2 separate regions of the Homo sapiens genome follow, and region 2 is linked to region 1. The links are contacts of gene promoters, found by promoter capture Hi-C in blood cells and fetal thymus (Javierre and others, 2016). All regions are on one chromosome and are shown on one strand. The core of a region is centred on a gene start or on the middle of the fragment in contact, and the rest is flanking DNA. Distances in the headings are between cores, read along the strand shown.

Region 1 (5,742 bases), core at 2,082-4,581:
GTTGAGTTCTGAAGTGGGATAAGAAGATAGGTATGAAATGTTCCTTAGAGATTTTGAAACAGGAAATCTGAGTTAACAAGAAATGGGCTAAATCTCAGGACGTTAGAGGCTCTCTAATCCTAATTTTATAATGATTCGATGACAATTCCAGAGGCTTTCAAGTCAGTAATAAAGCCTTTAATGTATGTAATCTTAATTGAAAGGAGCTGAATTAAAATGATAACATTGAGTATTTTGCTGAGTTTCCGTAGAAACCTTGAGGAAGAAGTTAATTTTTTAAGCTCATGTACATCATTGGGGAGCTTAGTAAATTGTAAGTCAAAATGAAAAAGCTTACATTTGTCCTAATTTTTTTCTTCTTTAAGGCTGTCTAGCATCCTGCCAAGTGAATAAGTGGGCTACGATGGCCCATTCTTAATTAGATGACTGCAGAAAAACTCTTAATTAAAAAAGCAAAAATATAATTTTTCCCTCTCTTGCAGAATATAAAATTAGTCATAAAGAAGAATACTTCCCAAATTTGGACTAAGAAACATAGAAATGTCATCCTCTAAACTTTTTATTAATAATTTTATGATTAATAAAGATTTAAAATGTAGTATCTATTGAATATAAAGATTATATTATAATAAAGCAATATTAAGATAATAAAAAGCAAAATAAGCTATTATACATAACACGAATTTAGAAAAAGAGAATTTTTTTTTTTTTTTGAGATCAGGTCTTGCTCTGTTACTAGGGTAGTGGCTTGATCATAGCTCACTGCAGCCTCAAACTCCTGGGCTCAAGCAATCCTCCTACCTCAACCTCCCAGTAGCTAGAACTACAGGTTTGTGCCACCATGCCTAGCTAATTAAAATTTTTTTTTTTTTTGGTAGAGATGAGGTCTCCATTGCCCAGGCTCGTTTTGAACTCCTGGCTTCAAGCAATCCTCCTGTTTTGGCCTCTCAAAGCACTGGGATAACAAGTGTGAGCCATTATGCCCAGCCAATAAATATTTTAATAAAAATTACAAAATATATAGATATCAAATACTATTTTCTAATGAAAATTGTAAATAATTTTTTTCTATTTAATGAACTATAGTTTTGTGCCTAGAAAAAGGTCTACTTGTTAATTTCTTTTAGTCTGAGTCTACAATAAGAATTAAATACAGTAAACATAAACTTTAAGCTGTATCCAAATTTTATGTATTTTTTCTCAAGTACACTTAAAATTGAGGTTAGTTAGTATCCTATGATCTCTGCACTGGAATTCTTACTACAATTGTCCACCAGAAGAAGAAACTAGGGAATTATAACTAAATTATCCAAAAGGGTTAAATTTTTTTTAAAAAAGCTATAAGTAAAAAGTTTCCATAGCTTTCACTGAAGTTGCTTTCTTGTAAAAATTATTTTGTTATGTAATTATGAAATATAACAGAATATCAGAGTACCAAAAATAATATTCCACCAATATGCCCATCACCAGTATTAAAACACTTGTTATATTTGCTTTGGTTTTCTTTTTAAAAATAAATGTTGTATATCATTCTCAAACATATTTTTATACTTTTAGAACAGACTAGAGATCTATAAACCTCATAGTTTTGTATTTTTGTGTTTTAAAGTCCACATACACGGTGTGTTTTATAAATAGTCTCTGCTCTATGTCTACTTGCTGTTGAAGACTGTATGGGGTGAATAAGAAACATCGAGTGTCTAGGCCTTTTAGCATTATTCCACTTACATTGAGAGAACTAAAGAAATAATAACCATAACTCTTGCTAGAACAGTTTACAGCCTAGTTAAAATGCCAAAATGAAGACGTGGTAAGCGTTTTTATATTATTTTACCTACCATCTGGGTAGAATGGAGTAATTAAGAAACCTGTCTCTGCATAGTTCTGAATAAAATAGTTTAAAACGTCAATTTGATACGTTCTAAATTTGGAAGATCAAATCATTTAACATTAAATCAGGAGCCAATTTCAGAATATAGTCATTGCTCATGGAGGACTCTTACCCGACTTTTTGGGAGCTCACTGGTTGTTCCTTTAGAGACTCGTAAGAGTAAACATTCACATAAATAATAACGGTTTAAGAGTTGGTTAGTCGTCATGGCTACAGGGATAGGTCAAGTTTTTAGGTAAGGTGACTGGTATACTTCCATGAGATAGGGCAGAACATTACTAGTTCTACCACGGACAGCGAGTATTTATACACATATTGTCATTCTCCTGGAAATTTACAAACCTACCCCAGTAAGTACAAAGTTAATGAATGCTAAAAATAAAATATAAACTGTATAGAACTCAGTGGTCGATTTTAATAATGAGTTAGATGCCGCAGAATGTAAGATGTAGGTAAACGGACGCAAAAATCCTTGTTTTACAATGTCTGCATCTCCGTAGTACTGACATTTGAAAACTTTACTTTGCACATACTTATTTTAAGTACGATAAATGAAAGCGCTGTGGACTAGGAACAAGAGACAAATTGCTTTCTTGTCCAAATTGTCTCAGACCCTGTATTTTCTTAGTCATAGCCGTTTGTTAAGTAGGCATTTGGTAGACTATTGCATGGAGGATTGCGAGAGCAAGATATTACTATCTGCGGTGGAATGCTCGAATTTCTTCTCTCAGCAAGGATAATGGGTAGCACAGTCTGACTTTAGACCCATCCAGTGGTTCAGACTTATAGATAGTATCCCATACTTTACCGCAATTCCTTGTTGAATTAAGGCTTGCACTTCGAATACAGACTACACACTTCTGGGTCTGTCTTGTACCACATTGTCTGGCATAGGCGCTCACTGTATATTTGTTGAATGTTAAAGTTCTGTGCACCAAAACCGTGCACTTTGCATCGATTATCTGCGAAAAGCATGGTACACTAAAACTAGATCTTGAAGAATTCCCATTTGATCATGAATAGAGGTAATCCACGTTTAAAATACCAGGTGTTGCGTAATCTCTACTTGGAGATTAGCCACCCCGTGCGCCCAGGTGAAAGATATCATTCTTCCGTGCGATCCGAAGTGCCGTGGAAGTTAGTGCCCTAGCCCAGTCCAGGAGGAAGGGGCGTCGTGCCGGCGGTTTTAAGCTCGGAAGGGGCAGGGGAATGAGCCCAGGGACCCCAGCGGGGCGCAGGTAGGAGGCTGTGCGCTCGCCGGGTGCGCTCCGGCCCCGATTCCCAGCGCAGCCAGTAAGTGGCGCTGGGCCTCGGGTTTGGCGGCCCGGAGGAGCGGGCTGCGGATTACCTGCAGCAGCGGGGAGCCGCCGAGCTCCTCCCCGCCCGCCCCCACACCCCACCCCCACCGCTGCACTAACCCCGGCTCAGCTGGCTCCGCGCACTTGCTCGGAGGAGCCGGGGCCGAGCGGACCGCCGGCTGCAGGCAGCGAGCGCGGCTGGGCTGCGGGGCTGCTTCCCCGCGTCCTCCGGGCCCGGGCCGCCCTCCTCCCGCACAGTGCGGAGCAGGGAGGCCCCGCGCCTCGACCACCCGCGCCCGAGCGTCCGCGCCTCCTCCTCCGCTCTGCAGGCGGGGACCGCCCGGCGCTCGGCACCCGGCAGCGCGGCCCCCTCCAGCCCCCGGCTCCCGGCAGCAGAAGCAGAAGGCAGCGCCAGGGGCCGCCGCCGCCGCCGAGCTCCGCGGGGCTCGGGAGCCGGCCCCGGCGAGGAGGCGCGGAACCATGGCCGATGGGGGCGAGGGCGAAGACGAGATCCAGTTCCTGCGAACTGTAAGCGCCGTGCGTCGCGTGTGCTGTCAGGGGAAGGGGGCGTCAGGGCATCCACTAGCGGGGTCCGGGCAGAGTGACAGCGGGCAGCGGGGACTCGCGGGCGGGGCGAGGGGGTGCCCCCTGAGGATGCGGGAGGAGCGGGCATCACCAAGTGTGTGCAGGTGTGCGTGTTGGGGCGAGGGAAGGCAAGGGCGCGTGTCTGTGCGCGCGTGTGGAAAGCTAGAGGATGGAGCGCGGCTAGCCGGCGGCAGGCGCCCGGGCTCGGACCCGGGGCACCGGGGACAGGAGCGTCGGAGCTGCGGGAACCGGGAGAGGAGGGGACGGCCGGTCCGGCCTGCCTGGTGGCACGGCTGGGACCTCCCGGGCGGCCGGGGGCAGGGTGCAGAGCAGGGTGGCCCGTGGGGGCGCGGGGAGCGGCGGGAACTCGGGCTGTTTCTGGGAATACCGCCGCCGGGAGGTTTCTTGGGCTTTCGGGCTGGACCCGCGCGTTGTCACGGAGCGAAGACGTTGGTTCGCTTACTCCGTGTAGCGTGCGGCGCAGCTGACCGGGGGCGGGGGTGATGGTGCAGGACGCTGCGCGGAGGTTTCCCCCAAGTCAAGGTGCTGCGAAAGCGGAGGAGGAGTCGCCTCCGTGGTCCCCGCGGTTCCCGGGGCTGGTGCCATCCGTGGTGGTGCTGTGACCGCTTGCAAAGCGTGGAAGGCATGGGAAGCGAGCGTGTGTTTGCGTGTGTGCGCGCGCGCGGGTGGTGGTGGGGAGAACATCGTGAACGTGTCGTTCTCTAAATGCTGGCTTATTGCATGCCAAGTGAAGCAAAGTGTGTGTGTGTAAGTGTAAGGGCAGGGTGGCTGCCCGGGAAAGGTTGGCTCCACACTAATACAATTCTTTCTCCTTAAGTACCTCTTGGCACTGCTCCTTCCTTTCTCTCATTTGTTCGAACACTGCAGATACTTCCCAGGCTGAGGCATTGCACACCTCCAAGCTGGGACTGGAGAGCCTCTCCAGAAAAGAAAATGCCCTAACTTCCTGCTAATAATAACCTAGTTAGCATCCTTTCAGTCGTTCCTTCTCCACTTCTGTCCTCCTTCCCGAAGGATGTTCCCTTGCAGGATTCCCCAGACTTCCCCAACCTAGAACTGCAGCTTCTGCTGGTACTTCTTTCCTCAGCAGTACAAAAACAAAACAAAACAAAACAAACAAACAAACAAAACCACTTCCCGGTTACAGTTACCTATAATCACAGAAAATCGTAGATACGGTGGAATTTTGGAATATTAACTTTTAGGTGTGAAAATAGTCTTGATGTATTTGGGTACTAAACATATGAAAACAGCGAATTTGCAAAGGAACGTTGTAAACGACTGTCTCTTTCTCTTTTGTGCATTAAACGGACTGGGAGAAAGCTTTGGGAAGGATAAAAACCCAGGGTCCACATCAGATGACAACCTAATAGTAATCCAGTCTAATAGCTGCAGGTTATGCACCATTGCATATGCTTTTTGAAGTACTGTTGGCCCAAGACCGGGCTTGGAAGAGCCTCTTCACTAATACCTTGGTCACGGTGTATAAACCTGCTAGTAATACAGTTGTCTTTTTCATAGAAAATAGACTATAAGGGTTTTTTTTTTTTTAAGTAATTAACACCACATTAGATTTTTCTCAAAACTAAGGACTATTTTATTCAGGTGGACAAATACGGTTGCTGTATAATTTTTCAATCAATTCGTATCAAACTCTGTGGGGTTAAAACTAGCTGGGACATTTTGGTAGGCTTCATGCACTCAAGGGCTTCCTGCGGGCTTAACTGTTAAGCCGAGCTCATGGAGGTGGTGTTATCAGAATGCTTAATGGGGACCGAGGGAACGTGCTGGCTGATGAGGTTCTGCACATATCAAGTAATGTCAACTCTGTGCCACTCAGCAGCTGCCTGTCAGCTAGAGCAGCACCTTTGATAAGTGGGTCCTGGGTAGAGATCTGGCAGTCCCAGGCTGGGATTTTTCTTTTAATAAAACATCCGTAGGTTGCTG
Region 2 (5,742 bases), core at 416-2,915, 280 kb before region 1:
AGAAAGAAGAAACTATGCAATTTAGATGTTATAAAACTGGTACCTTCTCCTAAGGATCAATGACCCTGACTTTGTGCCCAGCCATGGAGCAAAGTTAAATATAGCCGTTCAGTCAGTAAAAAATTGGCAAGCTTTTCATTACATGTAGCCTAGACCTTCAGGAGGAGTTTAATTGCCAGTTCAGAATTGTAATATTTTACCCCCCAAACAATAAAAACATCTCTATGTATAAATTCAATTTGGGACAGGATTATTTTACCCTGTTTTCTGGCTGAGAGGATAATGAACATTACCACAAGGAGGTTAGCATGCTAAAACACAGTAACAGAGCCATATTTATTACCTTAAAAATCAGATAAGACCAACTATTTTTAAAATAATGTTTTCTTTAAAATGAATCATTTACCCATGGGGTGAGGGTGGATGGGAAATAGCCCAGCTGATTTAGAAGGTAAGAAACCATGGCTCCTCCAACCCCACTAAGAAACTTCTACTATAAATTATATAATATGCAAACTATAATGATATAAATTATAATGTGATATTTGAGATTTACTTATTTTGACTTTTACCAACCAGACTATTTGGCTGGAATTGTCCTATTTCCCACTGAACTTTTTTTTTAAAAGCTTCATCTTTTCTGGTATGAAATGCAGATCATAGTACGTATCCTCGCATTGTGGCTCAGTTTGAGAACTACTAGTAATGCTCCATTTGCCTTTATGAAGCATATCACCCTTCCTGCTGGCCAGGCCGCTTCTAGATACGCTCCTACAAGTAAAACTTGGCTTTCTGTTGGTTGTCTGGTACTACTATGCCAATAGACTCCCTATTCTTTAGTCCTTTTAAAAAATTAAACAGATGCAAGAAATATGTAAGTATTAAGACTGTTTATGTTGTGGTGTTTCTGCAACTGACTGCAAACACGTGTGTATTTTTTCCCAGCCATACATCCTGGCGGAGGAGCTGCGTCGGGAGCTGCCCCCGGATCAGGCCCAGTACTGCATCAAGAGGATGCCCGCCTACTCGGGCCCAGGCAGTGTGCCTGGTGCACTGGATTACGCTGCGTTCTCTTCCGCACTCTACGGGGAGAGCGATCTGTGATGCTGAGCTTCTGTAATCACTCATCCCATCAGAATGCAATAAAAGCGGAAGTCACAGTTTGTTTCCTGGAAACTTTGACAAGCTTTATTAAGTTGAGAGAGAGAGAGGGGAAAAAAAAAAGCCTTTCGTAGTTCAGTAATTGCCAGCAATATAACACGGCTAAAATGAAGTTTTTACAGTATATGACATAGTGCGCTTCATAAATAGGTTTATTTCTGAGTTTTTAGCAAAATGTAATGAAATATCAGGTTGATTTCTTTGATTAAACAGAACAAATTACTTGAGTAATAGGAAATTAGGAGGATCTAGGGACAGAAGGAAAGTGAAAAATGTGAAAATACAAAATACCCAAGATTTAAGACCGGGGGGAAAAAACCACAAATTGGTAAATAAAGGTTTGCTATTTGTAAAAAATTTCATTTATCTCTAATATGCTTATGTGATTGCCCCTAGGGGAGTATATTTGGGATTCTAATGTTTTATTTTCATGCTTATCCAAAGATTACTATTGTATCTTCAAATGAATTTAATATTGTGAGATGGAACTGCCGGGGATTAAAAAGACTACCCAAAAGATTTTTGGCACTTACAATTTTTAAAATAGTTTATGTCATCTCTTCATTATTTAGGGCTGGATGGTCAACTCAGTCAGTGATTTTTTGATGCTTCTCTTATCCTCCAGAATAGAGACCTAAGGACACGTGGAAGTCAGTTTAATTGCCAGAGAGAAGGATGCAATCACTAGGTAAAATGAGGTTTTTAGGATTATTTATTGATTCCAGGTTCCCATGCTTTTTGTTAGAGCTTATTAGTACAGGTTCTCAAGAGATGACCACATAAAAGTGCTCTGTTTATAAATAAGCAGGTTTCTGTAGTACTGACTGGTTCATCACAAGGCAAGTCAGAAACCAGTATCCTTCTAGCTCTCCAGTCAGGACTTCCTTATGCCTCTAGTTTTATGACCGGTTAAGGAGAAGCCAGAGTTAGAGTAGGAGAGGACTAATTCTCAGCAGCAGTGGAGGTGAGTTCTTTCTTTTGCGGAAGCTTTACATATGTTTTGTGTAGTAGGAATAACTAGATATTTTAGCTAGTGTGCGGTGTGTGTTCACCCCTGGGATTGGACAGTGTATCCTAACAAGTCCCATGTCTGGTTCTGTGTCTAAAGGCCTGCTCCATGACACAGGATGCTACATGCACTCCTGCTAGCACATCTTGATCTGTTGAATGTTCATTCTTTCTTTTTGCTCATACTGCTGTAGGCTATAATTCCCCCCTGTTTTTCCATCTTGTTGACAGCTTGTAGAGAATAAAGCAGGAATTCTTTTTATATCTGAGTCCTTAATGATCAGGAAATGGATTACAAACAAACAAAAACAGTTGCAAACAGCAATTAAAGCATTACTAGAGAAGCAGTAACATGTCTGTTACCTACAGTCTGTTTGCTCAGATTTTTATAGATTTCCACCAACAGCTGGAAATGTAATATTTCCATTCCAAGCTGTCTGACAGCTTGACTCTTCTTCCTACACTGGGCCATTTAGAACCTTCAACCTTTATGAATTTCACTTAATTTGCTTCATTATTAAGTAATTGGTAGTTTCCAGATTCCTGAAATATTTGAATCCTTGAGTTTAATGCCAAACACTTTTGGGGTGGTTTAGATGAACTCTGACTCTATTTTATTTCAAGTAGGTGCTATATCCCGGCCATAAACCCCTATAGAAAAGCCAGAAAGTTGTGCTTCCTTTGAGGCTATTAGGGGGCTCTGTGGTGTTTTAGGATGGGTGTGGGTAACTCATCTACCTAAACTTTTAATTTCTTTACAACATTCAGCAAGAGAGGGGGTCAGTAGTCTCTATCTGCTAATAAATGAAGAAAGGAAGTAAACTCTGAAAAATAATAAACATGTTTATACTCTCATTTTAGGTATTATTTTTATTTCTGAAGCTGGATGCTCAAAAATTAAAACGTTTATAAGTTTCTAAATTAAACTTAATTTATAAAAGAAAAAAGAATCCCTATTTTTGTTATTTCAAAAAATAACCATTACTTTGGTTAACTACAAACAAACTTCCTCACTTAAAGGTTCCATGAGAATTAAAAACAGTCATTGGGTTAGTATTTGCCTCCCTTAAAGAATTAGAGACAGGCTTACTGGGTAGAGGGTGAACATAAGATGGAGAATTAACAATGAACCATTTAGAAGTGAATGATGGATGGCCCGGGGCATGGTGGCACACACCTGTAATCCCAGTACTTTGAGAGGCCAAGGTGGGCGGATCACTTGAGATCAGGAGTTCAAGACCAGCCTGGCCAACATGGCAAAAACCCATGTCTACTAAAAATACAAAAATTAGCCGGGTTTGGTTGCATGCCTGTAATCCCAGCTACTCAGCAGCTAAGGCAGGAGAATCACTTGAACCCAAGAGGTGGAGATTGCAGTGAGCCGAGATGGAGCCATTGCACTACCAGCCTGGGCAACAAGAGTGAAACTCCATCTCAAAAAAAAAAAAAAAAAAAAAAAAATCAGTGATGAATAGATTAGGAAGGAATTTTTAACCAAGAGATCACTTCAGAATCCTCAGTAAATATTTTCTAAAATGTATGCATACTCAGCCCTAATCCCAGAGTCTCAAGCTGTGAAGGTCTAGGTAAGACTTGGACATCTGCAGTTTTTTAAAACTCCATGGAATTTCTAATAACCCCCCATGAGAACCCGTGGATTAGAGGCAAAGGAAAGGTCATTAAGAATCAAGAGTCTAAAACGGCCAAGCGTGGTGGCTCACGCCTGTAATCCCAGCATGTTGGGAGGCCAAGGCAGGCAGATCATGAGGTCAAGAGATCGAGACCATCCTGGCCAACATGGTGAAACCCCGTCTCTACTGAAAATTCAAAAATTAGCCGGATTTGATGGTGTGCGTCTGTAGTCCCAGCTACTCGGGAGGCTGAGGCAGGAGAATCGTTTGAACCTGGGAGGTGGAGTTTGCAGTGAGCTGAGATAGTGCCATTGCACTCCAGCCTGGGCAACAGAGCAAGACTCCATCTCAAAAAAAAAAAAAAAGAAAAAAAGTCTAATAAAATGATTAGAGAAGACCTTACTGGCAAGGTTAATAGTTGAGCAATACAAATGGCCAGGCAAACCCTTGTGCCATCTGGTTGGTAATACAGAAATGCTTGACATAACTGAGTTTTAAATTAGAGCATTTGGCTTGGTATTCATTCCTGCTGTATACCAGATTCATCTATGTTCATGGAAATAAGCTGGAAATGAGCTCTTTACAGGCTTCATATGAAAGGAAACAAATCTAAGTGATACGGAGTCAGAAACATGTATTTTCAGAAGTTGCTAGTTGTTACCAGGCTGACAAAGATTCACCCACAGCTTCCCTGGATTATTTGACAAGAAGACACTGAGTTCCCACTGTGTCCTTGAGCTCTTTCGGGTTCCCTGGAGCCTACACAATAATTATACTGCTCTGAGACATTTTCATATTTCAGATGGAGTCAGCAGAGAAGACAGCGTCGTTTTTCCTTTTTAGATTCATTAATTAATAACTCAATCCTTAAGCAACTGACAGACCGTTATTCTTTTTAAGGTGCTAGGAGTTGCGATTTGTCAGTGACCCCTGGCCATGAATTCCCTCTGGGATTTAAGTCTTTTAGGAGTTACCTCCCCAGCAGTGCAGACCTCCTTGTTGTAAAATGGATGGAATGTCTGGGAGTACACCAAGGCATACTCGCAAATCCTTTTGCATGGCTGGGAACTTCCAAGAAACCACAGTGGCAGATATTAAAAAGCCAATATAAGATATAAGATATATAAGATATAAGAAAACCAATTGTCATGGTCTTGTTAAAAGAAAAACTTCAGACAAATTTAACAGAGTTGAGTTGAACAAAGAACAATTTGTGACTTGGGCAGCCCCTGAATCAGAACAGGTACAGAGCAGCTCTGGTGCTGCTGCATGAGAGGACTTGGGGACTGAGGGGGGAAAGTGAGGCGCAGAAACTGCTGGATTGGTTACAGCTTGGTGTTTGCCTTATGTAAACAATTTGAACAGTTGGCTGCCTTTCATTCACCAAAACTTGGTGATCGGTACAAAAGTAGGTTACAATCTGTTTACACATCCAGTGAGGTTACAGTTCACTGTGTATGGAAAAACCTTTAGGCTGAACTTAAAATATGTCAGGAGGCAGATTTAGGCTAACCTTTATTTAACAGTCTTTGCAAGACAAGCTACCAGAGGAGAAAGATTCTGTAAATAGTTGTAGACGGGAGAAAAAGGAGATTATATGCATACTTAGTATAAACAACGAAATGGTATTATGGTTCTGAAATCAGATATATGTATTATAAAGGATTGGGGTGGCTGTGATACCAGGTTTTGCTTACTTTACCTTTTCTATCCCTCAGTTATTGTCACAAGCATGAATTGCTCATGAGGGAGATTAGTAACAGAAAATCCCAGAGCATCAACAAGAGATATTAACCATCAAAATGGCTTTTTAAAAATGTATTTAAACATAGGCAGTTCTTTTTAGCTATTCAATTAGACGATCACCATTGGACAACCAAACAGCATAGGCTAGTGTGCTTCTGAGACCACAATAGTGTTCAGGTTTTTATAGATAAAACCT

The links. Contacts are between HindIII fragments. The CHiCAGO score rates a contact against its expected background, and 5 or more counts as called.
Region 2: a contact is called between a fragment that was not itself captured here and the fragment with the promoter of RYR2 in region 1, in 1 of 17 cell types (erythroblasts). The highest score is 5.9, in erythroblasts.

The regions. Positions count from the first base shown.
Region 1 is chr1:237,038,853-237,044,594 of GRCh38, forward strand. RYR2 (ryanodine receptor 2) reads left to right here and starts at 3,332. Exons shown (of 105, transcript NM_001035.3): 1 at 3,332-3,717. The coding sequence starts at 3,670. The HindIII fragment of the contact is 4,786 bases long and covers 331-5,116 here.
Region 2 is chr1:236,761,516-236,767,257 of GRCh38, forward strand. It overlaps ACTN2 (actinin alpha 2), which reads left to right. Exons shown (of 21, transcript NM_001103.4): 21 at 946-3,116. The coding sequence ends at 1,104. Among named protein-coding and RNA genes, the nearest start is that of MTR, 31 kb to the right of the region's middle. The HindIII fragment of the contact is 962 bases long and covers 1,185-2,146 here.